Linked DNA regions of Homo sapiens: regions 2, 3, 4, 5 and 6 are each linked to region 1. Evidence: promoter capture Hi-C in 16 types of primary human blood cells and fetal thymus (Javierre and others, 2016). All regions are on one chromosome and are shown on one strand. Each heading gives the region's core, a stretch centred on a gene start or on the middle of the fragment in contact. The rest is flanking DNA. Distances are from core to core; before and after follow the strand shown. Region 1 holds the start of S1PR3 (sphingosine-1-phosphate receptor 3). Region 2 has its middle 22 kb from the start of NXNL2. Region 3 has its middle 32 kb from the start of LINC02843. Region 4 overlaps LINC02843 (long intergenic non-protein coding RNA 2843). Region 5 has its middle 22 kb from the start of LINC02843. Region 6 has its middle 44 kb from the start of MIR4289.

Region 1 (2,635 bases), core at 88-2,587:
AGCGCACACACACACACACACACACATGCCCCGCACCATCACCACCTCCTCAACCAACACCAGCCCTGGGCATGGCCAGCTATCCTTGTTAGTCATGTATCTGCAGAGCATAATCCTTCCCTTGTACTTTCTAGGAATTATATTTTTCTTAACTATGCCTGCAAGATTTTCATCTATGAATAAAAAACATTGAAAAGATAAATTATGAATATGTGGTTATATACAAAGTCTGTGACTTCTAATGTCCAGATTTTAGAATGATGCCTAATTCTGGAGGTCTCAGAGGTCCAAGTGGGAGTGGGTACCATGAATGGGGGGGCCTCCATTTAAAAGTAACCTTCTAAAGAGCTCTCTGTTCCTGTAGCTCCCCTTTCCTTATTGGAAGGGTCAAAACGAAGTGTGTTCCCTTAAAAATCCAACAAGAAGTTCCTCTCTTATATCCAAATATAAAAACACCACAAAGAAATATACCATTGGGAGTGTCCAAAGCCAGAAAGTCAGAGGAAGAGAGAGAGAGAGAGAGAGAGAGAGACTGACTATTGGGAGACTCAAAAAGCCCAAAGCCCCTTCTCTAGCTGTTATCTCAGTTACGAACACAACGTACTGATTTTCCGTGGGAACCTCATTATTGCACTGTGGGGACTTCGTCTTCCAGCACCGATTCTGACGGCCCTAATTGCCTTGTTTGAGAAATGTTAGGAAAAAACTAATTTTCCGGCGAATATTGTTTAAAAGAATGATTTTCCCAGGCTAACGACCACAACCCTCTCCCACGTCCAGCATCCCCAGGCCCTGGCACTGTGGAAGCCTAACTTGTTAATTGTCCAAGGAAAACGACTGATGGAACTTCTCCACGAACAGCCTCTCCACTTTCATCCAGGTATTCAGCTCCAGCCCGTTGTAAACGCTCCGGGTGCGGTGGAAAAGGCCTCCTCCCTGTTCCTGCAGCGGCTCTGGGGGAGGGGTGCTGATGTGGAGCGCTCCGGCCGCCGTGGCGCGCCCAAGTCCCCGTCGCGCCCGGGATCGGTGGGGATTTTGTTGGAAAGGTGGGTCCTTCGGCCCCCAGCCCCCCACCCTGGTTCCGCGCCCCGCCCGGGCCCGCCTCTCACCTCCGTCGGCTGAGGGCGCTGGGGCCACCGGCATCCTAGCGGGTGGCGCGCGGCGGTGCCGGGGCGCCCGGTCCTGCGCTCGAATGCCAGATGGGCTGGGAGGCCCGGCAGTCTCAGCGCTCGCGACGTCGTTCCCGGGCCTGGGGTCCTGCTCGGTCGCGTCCTGCAGCCGCCTTCTGGTCCCTGAGTCCCTGTTGCCCGTCCCCGGAACCGGCTTCCTCGGCCTCTGCCCGAGCGAGTCAGAGACTAAACTTTTCCAGCGGCCCGCCGGGGCGGGACCCGCGCTCCGCCCCTCCCCTCGCCGCCCCCGACTCCCGCCCCTCTCCCCGCCCCCCTCTCCCCGTCCCCCGCCCGCGAACCCGGCACTCCTCCAGCTCCCCACCTCCCGCTCAAGCCGCCTGGTCTCCGTGCGCCCCGCCCGCCCCTAGCCTGGACCCCTTCTCCCCGACCCTACCAATCCCCTAGGGTCCGGCTCGCCCTTCGGCCCCTGTTCCCAGGCCGGCCTCCAGACCTTGTCCTCATCGGGCGAGCTCCAGGTGCAGAAACCGGGCGCCCAGAGACCCAGCGGGAACAGGCTTGGAACCAGGTCCGAGGTCTGGGCTTGGGCGGGCGCCTGTCGCCCTGACAGCGAGGGTTTGTTTGGGCCGATTCTTAATAGGAGGATTAATACTATCATTATCGTTGTCCAGATCCTGACCATTTCTTTTGTAACTGGCCGAGCACCGGCTTGGGCTTGCAGGTGGGCGCCTGGCGCCGGACAGCGTTTTTGTTTGGGCTTCTTCCTTTTCCGCGCGGGTCCCCTCCGGCGCCTGCCTGGTCCCTCTCCGCGCTCTACCCCCAGGCACGCAGAGACTTGGGCTCCAGGCGGGGGCAGCACTCTCCCCCAGCCTCTGCTGGTGCACCAGAGCCCACTCCGGCACAGAGCAGCGCCCCTCCTAGACCGGCAGCCAGCAGATCTCAGCCGACCCCCATGCGACCCCCTTCCTCACGCGGATTTGCCCCTTTTGTGTGGCAAAAATAATAATAATAATAATAAATCCATATGAAGGCTTCAAACAGAATTCCGAGAGAAGGAACTGCCAAATTTTCAATCAATGCCAAAGGCCATGATTGAGCGAACACAGAAACAACTGTAGAAGCTTGGGGAGAAAGGAGAAAATTAAAGAAAAAGGAGGAGGAGGAAAAGGAGAGAGGAGAGAAGCGGGAGGAAGAAGACGAAAAAGCAAGGAGAGGCCTGTTATCCGACCGTGCATTCCTGGGCCGGCAGGATTGGGCCGCAGGGGCCGCTGCAGAGAGTTGAGTTTGTGCAAAGGCCGCTCGTTACTTTCTGTCTTTTGCCCTCTTGCCTCCAGAGGATCAGCCCAGCGCATCCTTCTCTTGGAGCAGGGTGCATACGCTTATTTGGGGTGCAGTTTGAGCGGTGAAGGGCACCAAGAGTGGAAGTCGGCGGCACTCCTGTTCCCTGCAGAGAAACGCAAGCCCTCAGCAATTGAGCTGAAGGAGGCAAGTGACTCTGCCTGCTGAGG
Region 2 (2,635 bases), core at 39-2,538, 430 kb after region 1:
GCTGGGTGCCATAAGGGGAAAGATGGGGACAGGGACCACATCAGTGCTGATGGACCTGCCACCTGGGATCAGAGGGGACTATCTCCACCTGCCATCTCTCCCCTTGAGACCTAAGCCCCTACAGGTAGAAGGAGGCTAAGAGACAGGAAAAACCAAGGTATTTCTCCTATTCTCACTACCACTCACCACTCACTTCTGACATTAGATGTGTGGGGGTTTTCCCTACACATCAACCAGTTCTCCAGTGGACACCAGCTGGGAGTCTTATAATTCGATTCCATTTTGACACAACCTGCCTATAGTTAGCAGGCAGGTTGGGATATGTAGGGTCATATCCCACAGGTTAAGGGATCAGTCCCACAAGACGGCCTCTTCTACTTCAGACACCAACCAAGCCCCAGGTTGTTTAACCTGTGCTTTTGACCCAGTGGCTATACATAGGGGTTCCCATGACCCTCTCCTTAAGTTTGTTTAATTTGCTACAGGAGCTCACAGAAATCAAGGAAACACTTCACTTACATCTATCCATTTATTATAAAATATATGAAAAAGGATACAGATTATGTAAGGATGTCTGAGGATGAAGAGATGCTTAGGGAGATGCATATGAGAGAAGGGGTATGGAGCTTCCATGCCCTCTCCGGGAACACCACCCTCCAGGAATCTCTACGTGTTCAGCTAGCCAGAAACTCCCCAAACTCTGCTCTTTTGGGGTTTCATGGAAGCTTTATTATGTAGGCATGACTGATGACATCATTGGCCATTGGTGGTCAACTCAATCTTCAGCCCCTCTTCCCTCCCAGGAGGTCCCATCGGAGCTGAAAGTTCCAACCCTCTGACCACATGGTTGGTTCCCCTGGGAACCAGCCCCATCCTGAGGCTATTCAGGGGCCCCCAACCAGCAGTCATTTCATTGACATACAAAAGACTCATCACTCTGGAGATTCCAAGTGTTTTATGAGCCATGTGCCAGGAAACAGATGAAGCCCAAATATATATTTCACAGTATCACAGAGGCACAATCCTATTCCCACTGAACACGTTCTCAGTGATGTCTGCTGAATGAAGCAAGGGCAGAAAAATTGTTGCAGGGGAAATTTCCTGGAAAGAGAGAGCAAAGGCCCCTCATTCCAACTGTATGCTCAAACAGGAGAGTGAAATAATCCCTCCTGGAAATTATGCTCTATCTAACCTGCAGATTCTTGAGTGACTGCAGGGATTCTGATGAGTGGCTGCTGGTTGGCTGGTTTTCTGGGCTTTGCCATTCTCCTCCTCTGGGTAGTGTGAGGTGGAAAGCACAATTGTAAACCAAGGTTGCCAGTCAGCGCTCATTTTTGGACAAAGGTCAGTTGTTCAGAAATTAGACTATTCCTGCCTCCTGTCTTAGCTGTTGGTGGCTCCACTCCACCTGAACACAGGGTATAGGGAAGTCATTTCAAGCCCAGTGATTCTGCAAATTGGAATGACTCTGACAGCAAAAGTTGTTTGTGCATATGTTTGTGCATTTGCTTAATTCACGTTTACCTTAAGAACGTGCTCACCCTGTGATCTCTGCAGAAATCCTGACTCTGGTGCAGGAGCCTCCACTAGGAAAATTTGGAAAATTTGATGCCCAGCATGAAAGGAAAGCCACCCAAGCCTGTGATTTCTCAGGTCTCTTTTAAAGCCAATGTCCCAACAGTATTGTCAACCTAAAATAATCAAAAGGTTCAGAATCTAGTTCAAAGAGAATTTATCCCAACAGTACAAAGTTGAGGACAGCCCACTTGGGAAGAATGTATTCCAAAGAATGGAAATCTGTGCTTCAAAGTGTAGTAGAAGTTTGGGATTGCTTGTATGAACAAAGCTTAGGGAAGCTTAACAGAATTTCAACATCTTTCTTTTTTTTTTTTTTTTTTTTTTTTGAGATGGAGTCTCACTCTGTCACCTAGGATGGAATGCAGTGGCATGATCTTGGCTCACTGCAACCTCCGCCTCCCGGGTTCAAGCGATTCTCCTGTCTCAGCCTCCTGAGTAGCTGGGACTACAGGGGTCTGCAACCACAACCAGCTAATTTTTTTTTGCATTTTTTAGTAGAGACGGGGTTTCACCGTGTTAGCCAGGATGGTCTCGACCTCCTGAGCTCATGATCCGCCTGCCTTGGCCTTCCAAAGTGCTGGGATTACAGGTGTGAGCCGCTTGCACCTGGCCTAACATCTTTCTATGGAAGGCTGAATGCATAATTACAACAATCTGATGAGCCAAAGTGTTGATAGCAGTAGAAGGCAGACAAATTCCTAGGCAGACAGGGGCAGGTCCCCAATGAAACCTGATCTTCAAGCCATAGACAGCCTGAAGCCTGAAAACCAGGCAGCCAGCTCCAGGTAGAGTCCATGACCTGAGTGAGAACTTCCTTGATGCTTTTATAGCCAGTCAAATGGTGCTTTTTCCAGGACTGCTTATGGACCAATCAGCACACACTCCCCCATTCTGAGCCCATGAAACCCCTGGACTCAGCTACATGTTGGGACTACCCACCTTCAGATATGGGTTACCCACTTCGGGTCCCCTCTCATGTCAAAAACTGTTCTGTCACTCAATAAAACTCTTCTCTGCCTTGCTGACTCTCCGCTTGTCCATGTAACCTCATTCTTCT
Region 3 (2,635 bases), core at 70-2,569, 370 kb after region 1:
TAAAGAGAGGGTTTCTGCCATTTCAGGAGAATTTCCTACATGATCCTCCTCCATGATTTTCAGATTAGTAGTTTTCAAATAAAGCCCTTTCTCTCTATCCTGAACAAGGTGTCCTGCTGCTAAAATTAAATTATGCCAATTTCTTACCAAGTACTCATACATATACAATATGGATAAAATTTTCTTTATTTTAAGTTTTTCTCTCCTAAATTTTTCTTAAATTTAGAAGCTTGGTACCAATTATCCACTGAGAACTGGTAGAAAACAAAATGAATAAAGAACAAATGACTAGTAGAAAAAAACCTACACAGACAATATGTTCAGTTAATACTTTGTGGCATTTTGAATGTATTTTCACATGCACTTAAGATTATTTCACATTATGCAAATATATTTTCATAATTATTCCTAACTTGTGTGTCTCATTAAATGAATTGATATTTCCAATGTCTTACCAAGGCATACTGTGACCCTTATCTGGAGGTTAGCTTCCTGAACAAAATCAATAGCACTGAAGATGAGATTCATTCTAATTCACCATCTCTTCTGGTCATTATAATTCTGATCTTTGTCTTCCATAAAAATATATATTGGAGGAAAACAATTTTTAATGTTCTGCCCTGGAAAATACAGACTAGGAAAATATCTTCCTAGTGGCACCCAGTCAGCTTAATTTTCTGGGGCCACTATGCTCTCCTCTTAGTGAGACATCTAAGAGGAAGAAGAGTCTTCCCTCATACCTGGAAATTCTTTCTCTTCCCCTCTGATAGCGTGCGCAAACTTGACGTTAGCAATGCCTATGGTGCTATTCACCTCTCCAGGGTAGGAATCCTTCATCCATAGCCTCCCACAGTACCTTGTCATAGAGAAGTGGTAAATAATTTTCTGTTGAATGAATGACTGGCTCAGAAGTCTCAGAAGACCTAATTCAGTTCCCAGGGCTTTCTCATCACAGCTTTCCTCAGCCAAGGATCCACAGGAGAATTAACCTACAGGCAAGTTGCAGAATGCAAGGTAATAATTTTTTTTAAAAGTTAATTGCTTTCTTACATAGCAACAATGAACACTGAAATTGAATATTAAAAACACAATATTGTTTTTATTATCATCAAAAAGTGAAGTCCTTGGGTATAAATCTGTAATGGAAATGGCACAGCAAAGGTTGCCATGTTTAGGCATTAGAAATAGAACACCACACTCAAATTGCTCAAGCCAGTGGCCAGAGATAAAAACTTATAGGTATCTCTCCTGCCTAGCAGCCTGGGCTCTCTGTTTTTTCTGCTGCTTCCTTTAAGCAGATGAGCCTTCAATCTGAATTTGTGCCTTCCATCTGAAGAACCAAGGGCTACCCCAGGCTGGGTTTTCCATGGGAAACTGAGGAGAACACAAGGTTGGGCTCGCAGCACCAAAGCAATAGTCAGGTAGGCATAAATTGGACAAGGTCAAACAAGAACCACAAGGTCATCTGCTAAGGTAAACAAGTTTCCTGTGTGAGGGACACTGTTCATAGGTCAGAAAATGAGGCATTAGGCTGTCTACCAGGTAAAATAAGTATCGCATGAAAGGCACACTATAAACACCCCCATCTACTACCCTTCATTTCTTGTTAGGGTAGAGTTACTAGCCACTGTGGTACTGGAACACCAATTTAGCTAGGGGCTTTCAAAACAAAACCTAACAAAATATGTACAAGACCTATATGAATTGCACAAAAACTACAAAACTATGATGAAAGTCAAAGAATACCTAAATAAATGGAGAGATATTTCATGTACATAAATAGAAAGATTTAATATTGTCAAAATGTCAGTTCTTCCCAACTGATCTATAGATTCAACATAATCCCAATTACAATCTCAGCAAGCTATTGTGTGGATAATAACAATAAGACTCTAAAGTTTATATGGAGGGGCAAGAGACCCAGAATAGCCAAGACAATATTATAAAACAGCAAAGCTGAAGGACACAAACTAATTTCAAGACTTACTATAAAGCTAAAGTAATAAAAACAATATGGTATTGGCAGAAGAAGAAATAAATAGATCAGTGGAACAGAATCCAGATCCCAGAAACAGACCCACGTAAATACAGTCATCTGATCTTTAACAAAGGAGCAAAAACATTTCAGTGAAGAAAGGATAGTGTTTTCAACAAATTAGGTTGAAACAATAGGACATTCACAGGAAAAATAAGGATCCAGACATAGGCCTTACACTTTTTACAAAAATTAACTCAAAATGGATCATAGGCCTAATTGTAAAATGCTAAATTATAAAATTCCTAGAAGGTAATATAGAAGAAAACCTAAGTGTCCTTGGATTTAGTGTTTAGATGCCACACCAAAGACACAATCCATGAAAGAGAACATTGATAAGTTGGACTTCAGTAAAATCAAAAATATAAGCTTTGCAAAAGATCATGACAATAAAAAAAATCACAGACTAGAAAAAACATTTGCAAAACATATATCTGTTAAAGGACTGGTATCCAAAGTATACAAAGGCCTCTTAAACTCAATAATGAGACAATAAACAACCCAACTGAAAATTAGGCCACAGATCTGAACAGACACTTCACTGAAGAAGATACACAGATAGCAAATAAGCATATGAAAATATGTCCAACATTATATGTC
Region 4 (2,635 bases), core at 68-2,567, 340 kb after region 1:
CCAGATGAATATGAATGAACTGTACCAGAAATGATAACTATTAAATACATTGGTAAATATATATACTTTAGAATTTAAATCTTTTGAAAATATAATTGTTTAATCAAGAGTAATACCAATGTACTATGGAGTTCGTAACATACATAAAAGTGAATGTATGACAACAAAACCATAAAGACTATATAGGTGGAAAAGGGCAAATAGAAGTATATTATTTAAGCTTCTTATACTGTCAGTGAACCTGTATAATATGACTTGAAGGTAGACTATATTAAGTTAAATATTTTAAACCCTATAACAACTAGTAAAAGAACAAAACAAGGAGTTACAGCTAAAATCCAACAAAGAAGATAAAATGGAATCATAAAAATTTTCAATTAACTTTTAAAAAGGCAAAAATAGAGGAAAAGGGTAACACAGAATAAACGTTACAAATAGAAAGCAAATAGCAGGAGGAGATACTTAGACCTAACCACAGCAATAATCATATTAAGTATAAACGGTTTAAACACCACAATAAAAAGTCAGAGATTGTCATATTGAATCAAAAAAACAAGACCTAATAAACACAAGAAATTCTCTTTAAATATAAATAGACAAACTGATTAAAATTAAAATGTTCAACAACGATACACTGTGCTAACCCTTCTCAAAAAAAGACTGGATGGCCGGGGGCAGTGCTCACACCTGTAAACCCAGCAATTTGGGAAGCCAAGGCAGGCGGACGACTTGAGGTCAGGTGTTCAAGACCAGACTGGCCAATGTGGTGAAACCCCATCTCTACTAAAAATACAAAAATTAGCCAGGCATGGTGATGAGTGCCTGTAATCCCAGCTACTCAGGAGGCTGAGGCAGGAGAATCACTTGAACCTGGGAGGCAGAGGCTGCAGTGAGCCAAGATGACGCCACTGCACCCCAGCCTGGGTGACAGAGGGAGACTCTGTCTCAAAAAAAAAAAAAGACTGAAGTGGCTATATTAATATCAGACAAAGTTGATTTCAGATTAAAGAATATTTCCAGTGATAAAGAAGGAATTGGAAATGACTTTATACACTCTTGTATTATTTGAAAAAAATCAAATAATACAACGTGTAGCCTATTTGTGCATTTGAACATGTACCTATTTAGTAATTTAAACATTCAACACACTTTTCTTTAGGCTACTCCCTATACCTAGCACTGTTTAGGTATTGAAAAAAAAGGGGGGGGCGGATAAAGAAGTTGGACACAGCCCCAGACCTAGGGGAGCACAATCTGTTAGGGAGACAAGACACTAACTTTTTTTTAAGCTAATAAAAGATGTGTCAGATGTTAATTGAAAAATGGAAGTTCAGAGAAAAGAATATTTCTGGCACCATAGCAATTAGGGAAAGTTTCTAGAAGAGAGCTAAACCCCAAGAGTATGCACAGATAAAGAGAAAGAGGGAGGAAGAAAAGCATTTTATAATAATTGGAAAAATTTTAATTTATGTGGCTGGGTAGGTTTTCACTTTGCTTTTTTCCTCCTACTCGAGCAGAGGGACCATTTTGGTCTCATTGCTTCCAGGCTTTCTGGCTTTTGTGGAGAGTGGTTTGGGTGGATGCAGGGGAGCTGCTCTGGTGAAGGAGCCATGGCTGTGCAGGCCTTCCAGCAACCTACAGAGAAATAGCAAAGCCCTGGCCGCATGGAAGCCTGCCTGTCTTGCCATCCTTGGAAAGACTGGTGTGCCTGAATGCGGGGCATAAAACAACACATGTTTTTACACCCCATCCCAGGACAATGACTAAGACCAAGACCAAGTTATTACCTGTGTATAGAGATGACAAAGATCAACTGGGCACCAACCACCACCTTGAGAGTGGGTCACTACACAAGCCCCACAAATTTCACCCACCTCCACAGTGAGGGGACCCCAAAAGAGATGGAACTACCCTGCTCCACCAGCTCAGGGGAATGAGGCCTGAAGTAGATACTAAGTTGAATTACAGGTGATTTTTTAAAAACCTACACATCTGAGTTTGGGGGCTGAGATTTGTGTTCATAATACATATCAGCAGCTCAATAGTTAGAATCATTTTCTGATAATAAGATGATTACTCTTTCTTCTTTCTTAGGTACATTGAAGGAGGTCAGTTTGGAAAACCACAGTGTAGACACTTATTCTCTCTCCTTTGTGTTTCAGATAAACTCAGAGCAGGAAGACAGCAAGGAATAGCAGTGAAAAGCATGGTGCTTAATCCAACCCCTTACTCACTGCTGAGACCTGGAAATGTGTTCATCAGCTACAAAACAGGAGAGATGATAACTCATTATGTATATGTGATGATAAACAGAGACAATATATTGAAGAGCTTATATGAGTGGCAGACACGGGACATGCTTCCCTGTGGCTGGCCAGCGTGTCATCTTCTCCATGTGTCCAGAGAAAAGCTTTGCAAATCAACCTCTCGATGAATGATGACGGCACCAGTGAAATCAGGGGAGGCAGAAAATCATGTTAGTTTGGTTTATAATGCAAGAAGTTACAGAACACAGAGTGCTCAAAACTAAGAATGTGCTAGTTGTATAACAGGGTCCTTCTTGGGACTCAGCCAGGATTCAAACTATAAAGGAAAATCGGGTGAGCAGGTGGGATAGTCAAGTGATTCTATTTGC
Region 5 (2,635 bases), core at 65-2,564, 320 kb after region 1:
GGGAAGCCTTCACTCTGCCCTTGAGGCCTTCTGACTGATTGAACCAGGCCCACCCAGATCATCTACGATAATCTCCCTTACTTAAATTAGCCGATGATGAACTTTAATCATATCTGCATAATACTTTCACAGCAACACCTAGGCCAGTGTTCGATTAGGTAATTGGGGGCTGTGGCCAGTTAAGATGACACAGAAATCTGACCATCATGGGAGGTTAAGGGGAAGCTGTGGTCCAAGGGCTTTTGTCTCTATTTCCAATTAAGACTATCAAAGGTGACAGCACACTGAACATCAGAGGAAAACCATGGCCTGGGTTGGTGCCCCGAGTCTCCCTCAGTAGTCCTGCAAGAGGAGAGGCAGCGGAATCTTCCAGGCACCCTCAGAGTAAGGTGGACAGAGCTGATACAGGTATGTGAAATAGGCTCTGCTGGATGCACAATGGCACAGCCCTTTAGAAAGCGATTTGGTGACATAAGGAAAACATTGAGCCTCAGAAGTTCCTGCCTCTGACTGACAGCTTTCTGCACAAAGGTTTTGACTACACCATTATTTCCAGTAGCAAAAAATCAGTGGCATCCTGATGACCTGCCACAGAAGATAGTTTAGGAACTAGGATATACATCTGAAGCATCTTATACATCTATAAGCAAGAAGAAAAACAAGGGTCATGATGTCCATGTTACAACATAAAAAAAAAAAAACTTAAAAGATGGTACACCCCATTTTCTATTGTATGAGTGTTTTCATACTAATATAAATACAAATGTGTGTATATATGTGTGTATGTGTCATATATACACACACACAAATATATACATAACATCCTTTCCATTTTCACAAGAACAATACTGAAAGAATGTCCCATAAAGTGCTAAAAGTTATATTTGGAAGGAGATTTGAGAGACGACTGTCTATTTTCCAAATATTCTGAGAGGTGGTTGTTACTGCTTTTACAATATGGGAAAGAAATTATGAGCCTGCCTGGCTCATTATGGCTGCTTGTGGTTTCAATGCCTATGGGATTGCTGAAACCAAGCTTCAGCTGAGACCCCTGAATCCAAATTGCTTTTTAAATTAAGTGGCAGGAAACTTGGAATGCATATTTTGTCTCAAATTTGGTTAATAGGAACCAGATGCAAAGCTTCACCCAAACTTCGTTGTTTAGTGTTCTGGTACCCATTTACCCATTTGCTTGCTGAGCTAAAATCATTTTATTCATCTGCATCTTTTTGTGTGTTAATGCCTTGGATACATTAGTAAGATATGCCTACGATATGTTCTTTCCATGTAGTGAAAATGAACTTGCAAACATTAACGTGGGAATACAAGAAGTGTCTATTATTTTCCCAAAAAGCAAATGAAATCTGAGTCAGAATCTGCATCCCACTCAGTTGATGAAAATTCAACCTCCAGCATTATAGGAACCTCCTCCCAGCTCTACACGGTCCTGGGGCCCTAATGCCGAGTAGAATATTCTGAAAGCTTTTTCATTTTTCTGTCCACACTCCTGACTGCTGGGATGCTCTCCTTCCCAGCCAGGATAGGCCATGGGGTGAAGCGACATCCTCCCAAGTTGGTGAGGAGCTGGGCCTTCCCCAAGATGGCTTCTCCCACACAACCTGGCTTCTCTGGTCTCAGGAAATGGCGCCTCCTGCAGTGAGAGCTGCCGCTTCTGTCCCTGGAAACCCATCCCTCCGCCTGCAGCCTCCTGGGGTGTTTGCCAGGGAGAGCCTGGTAAACAATCTCCTCAAGTCTGGTGTGGAACATACACGCATACTACGCACCACATATACACATATATACCATACCACACACACACCATATATACCCCCACACACACCCCATACACCACACACAGACCACACACTACACACACTGCACCACACGCACACACCATACACACCCCACACCCCACACACAATAAACACAGACCAAACACTGGACACTTCACACCACACACACATGCCATACACACCCACGCACACACCACACACCACACACAGTACACACAATACACCACACCACACACATACACTATACATACCCCCCACACCCCCCATACACCACACACAATACACACAGATCACACACTACACGCACCACACACTACACACCATACATACCCGCCACACATCCCACACACCACACACACTACACTCACCACACCACACACATACACTATACATATCCCACACACACCCATACACCACACACAATACACAAACCAAACGCTGCACACACCACACCACACACACATCATACACATCCCACACACAATACACACACCACACCACACACATACAATATAAATACCCCACACACCCCATACACCACACACAATATACACAGACCACACACTGCATACACCACACACATACACACCATATGTACCCCACACACCACACACACCAGACGACACACACATACACTATACATAACCCCCACACACCTCATACACCACACACGATAAGCACAGACTACACACTACATACACCACACACATAAACACCATACATACCCCCACACACCCCACACACCACATACAGACCACACAGTACACACACCGCACAAATACACACCATACATACCCCACACACACCAAACAATACACACAGATAATACACTACACACACCA
Region 6 (2,635 bases), core at 75-2,574, 290 kb after region 1:
TCTATTACCTACTTCGCAGTCAAAATGAACATTTTCTGTGGGTTCTGCTCCCCTGGGCTGCTCATTCCACTCACCAGAATTGTGACTTCATATGGGTCTTCTTTTTATTAACATCCTGAGCCAACAGACCTAAATAATGTCAGTGATAAAATACTCCCATAAAAATCTTTTGTCCATTTAACATATTTATTATGCAGCCTTTTACCGAAAGTTGACTTATGGAAGCACTAATGAATACAACAAGTCAGGTTTTCTTCATCATGCCCCCCAAACCCCTTCCTCCATGCTCTAGCAGTGGTCAAGGGCCCAGTGTGTGGTGCCCAGGGAGCATATATCCATTAGACGCCTGTGACACCCTCCAGTTCTGCAGCCAACACGAACAGTGTGTGAGATGGAAAGCTCTCCTTCTAAGCACGCATTACCTTCCCCTTTCATCTTTGATCCTAACGTAGCAGCAATTTCTTTCCATTAAGGGGACATTTCTGGTCCCTTCTGGAAACGCATTTCTGTAATGAATATCACTCAGGTGCTAGTTCACTCCACACTAAGGACATTGCTATTCTTCTGCTTCTGGAGAAATCTCATGCTGTTCTGTATATAAAATATCACCTATTCTTCAGATATAGCCCCACAGAGGGAGAAGAAGCAATGACAGTTCAAGCAGAAAGAAGGAAGAAGCTTCTCTCAAGCAGAAAAAAGACTTTTTCTTTTCCTCACTGCATGATCAGAGCAGGCTGTCTGGGCAAGCTGTACCAGGCCACACAGGGACCTAGATAAGAGAACCGCCTATCCCAGCAGCACTAAATCACACAGTTTCTGCTTTGAGTTGGCCTTCATTTTAGACACAACAACTGGATAGCTTTATGGAGATGTCATTGATCAAATCTGAGAAACCCAATACTTATCCAAGTAAGGAGACATGAGAAAAAGTAAGGAGGGCAGAGGAGCCAGCACTTCTCAGCTGAATTGGGAAGGGTTCTTAGAGGCAGACAGATGCTAACTTCAGCAATGTACTGGAAGACTAGTAGGCAACTCATGGAATTGAGGGGAGATCAGGAGAGCCAGGCTCAGAAGCAGAACAGGAGCAGAAAGGGGTGGGTAGCTGAGGGCACAAGCAGTGAGAGGAGTCTCCTGTCTCCAGGAGGAATCACTGCCACCACCACAGTCTCCCCCCACCCCCAGGCCACCCTCCTGCCTCAGCCACCTCCCCCAGGAACGGTCTCTAAGTTACCCAGCATCTTTGCATCATTAATAAAGAACCCCTGGTGGGGGCTTCCAGCTGCCCTGGCCTAGATTTTTAACCCCACGCCAGCTTTCAGGAGGCAGGTGAGAGAGAATCTGGCTCCCCTTTAGCTTGCAGAGACAGAGAGAGTGAGTGAGAATTGATGCCTTCAGGAAATGGCCAAGCTCCATCCAGTATTTACCAATGCCACCAGGTGACAAGTGCTTGTGCATACTCCCAACTTTAACAAAAAATGAATTAGAGGATGCTGGAATCTCAATCAGCAGCCAAGGCTGTATGGTTAATTAGGATTTGTATTATTTTTATATTACTGCATAACATACTTCTACAAAGTTGGTGGTTTAACACACTCACTTATGGCAAGGCACAGTGGCTCACATCTGTAATCCCAGCATTTTGGGAGGCTGAGGCTGGAAGATAACTTGAGCTCAGGAGTTCAAGATCAGTCTGGTTAACATGGTGAAACCCCATTTCTATTAAAAATACAAAAATTAGCCGGGCATGGTGGCACATGCCTATAGTCCCAGCTACTCAGATGGCTGAGATGGGAAAATCACTTGAACCCAGGAGGTGGAGGTTGCAGCAAGCAGAGATCATGCCACTGCACTCCAACCTGAGCGATAGAGTGAGACCCTGTCTCAAAAAATAAATAAATAAATAAATAAAAAGAAAACACTCATTTACTATGTCACAGTTTCTGTTGGTCAGGGGTCTGGGTAAAGCTTGGCTGGAATCTCTGCATAGGGACTCACAAGATTGCAGTCAAAGGACTAGCCAGGGCTGGGTCCCACACAAGGCTTGGGGTCCTCCTCCAAGCTCTCGTGGTTGTTGGCAGAATTAAGTTCCTTGAAGCAATAGAAACACCTTGAAGCTGCGATGGTTCTGGTGTGCTTCAAATGCCATGGGGCTGCCCTGTGATTCCCTATGGGATGGCCAGAGACTCCACACAGGACCCTAAGCCACGTGGACATGCAATGTCTCCAAGGCCCATGGCAGAGCCATGGCTATGCTTCCCTGTCCAGCTGGAGAGCCTGCTGTGTCTCTGAGCTTCACCCACAGCTGCCAGCCTCCTGGTGAACCCACAGACATACCCAAACTTTGTGCCTGTTGCCGCTGCATTTTTAAACATTTTTTTGTAGAGACAAGATCTCACTATGTGCCCAGGCTGATCTTGAACTCCTCCTGACCTCAAGCCATCCTCCTGCCTCAGCCACCCCAAGCACTGGGATTTCAGGTGTGAGCCATCACACTTGGCCTGCCACTGCATTTTAAAGAAGCCAAACCAGAATCATATTTCCTTCTTAGCAATGGGGGTGCGAGGACAAGTAAAATGTCCTTCCCTTTGGAGAGGATGTGCTGCCATTACCCTCAGCCAAGTTCACACATGTGCCA

What was found. The method cuts DNA at HindIII sites, captures the fragments that hold promoters and counts their contacts. A CHiCAGO score of 5 or more calls a contact.
Region 2: a fragment that was not itself captured here is called in contact with the fragment with the promoter of S1PR3 in region 1 in 1 of 17 cell types (naive B cells); the score reaches 5.8 in naive B cells.
Region 3: a contact is called between a fragment that was not itself captured here and the fragment with the promoter of S1PR3 in region 1, in 4 of 17 cell types (M0 macrophages, naive CD4 T cells, naive B cells and 1 more). The highest score is 7.8, in M0 macrophages.
Region 4: a fragment that was not itself captured here is called in contact with the fragment with the promoter of S1PR3 in region 1 in 2 of 17 cell types (M2 macrophages and naive B cells); the score reaches 5.8 in M2 macrophages.
Region 5: a fragment that was not itself captured here is called in contact with the fragment with the promoter of S1PR3 in region 1 in 1 of 17 cell types (endothelial precursors); the score reaches 5.1 in endothelial precursors.
Region 6: a contact is called between a fragment that was not itself captured here and the fragment with the promoter of S1PR3 in region 1, in 1 of 17 cell types (endothelial precursors). The highest score is 5.6, in endothelial precursors.

What each region holds. Positions count from the first base shown.
Region 1 is chr9:88,990,170-88,992,804 of GRCh38, reverse strand. S1PR3 (sphingosine-1-phosphate receptor 3) reads right to left here and starts at 1,337. Exons shown (of 2, transcript NM_005226.4): 1 at 1,110-1,337. RefSeq lists a silencer at 1,497-1,791. The HindIII fragment of the contact is 3,077 bases long and covers 1-2,250 here.
Region 2 is chr9:88,556,350-88,558,984 of GRCh38, reverse strand. It overlaps a transcript of NXNL2 not described here. Among named protein-coding and RNA genes, the nearest start is that of NXNL2, 22 kb to the right of the region's middle. The HindIII fragment of the contact is 1,121 bases long and covers 728-1,848 here.
Region 3 is chr9:88,618,974-88,621,608 of GRCh38, reverse strand. No RefSeq gene overlaps it. Among named protein-coding and RNA genes, the nearest start is that of LINC02843, 32 kb to the left of the region's middle. The HindIII fragment of the contact is 2,175 bases long and covers 232-2,406 here.
Region 4 is chr9:88,647,188-88,649,822 of GRCh38, reverse strand. It overlaps LINC02843 (long intergenic non-protein coding RNA 2843), which reads left to right. Exons shown (of 4, transcript NR_144626.1): 2 at 2,163-2,635. Among named protein-coding and RNA genes, the nearest start is that of LINC02843, 3.7 kb to the left of the region's middle. The HindIII fragment of the contact is 2,190 bases long and covers 223-2,412 here.
Region 5 is chr9:88,672,506-88,675,140 of GRCh38, reverse strand. No RefSeq gene overlaps it. Among named protein-coding and RNA genes, the nearest start is that of LINC02843, 22 kb to the right of the region's middle. The HindIII fragment of the contact is 341 bases long and covers 1,144-1,484 here.
Region 6 is chr9:88,700,483-88,703,117 of GRCh38, reverse strand. No RefSeq gene overlaps it. Among named protein-coding and RNA genes, the nearest start is that of MIR4289, 44 kb to the left of the region's middle. The HindIII fragment of the contact is 1,287 bases long and covers 681-1,967 here.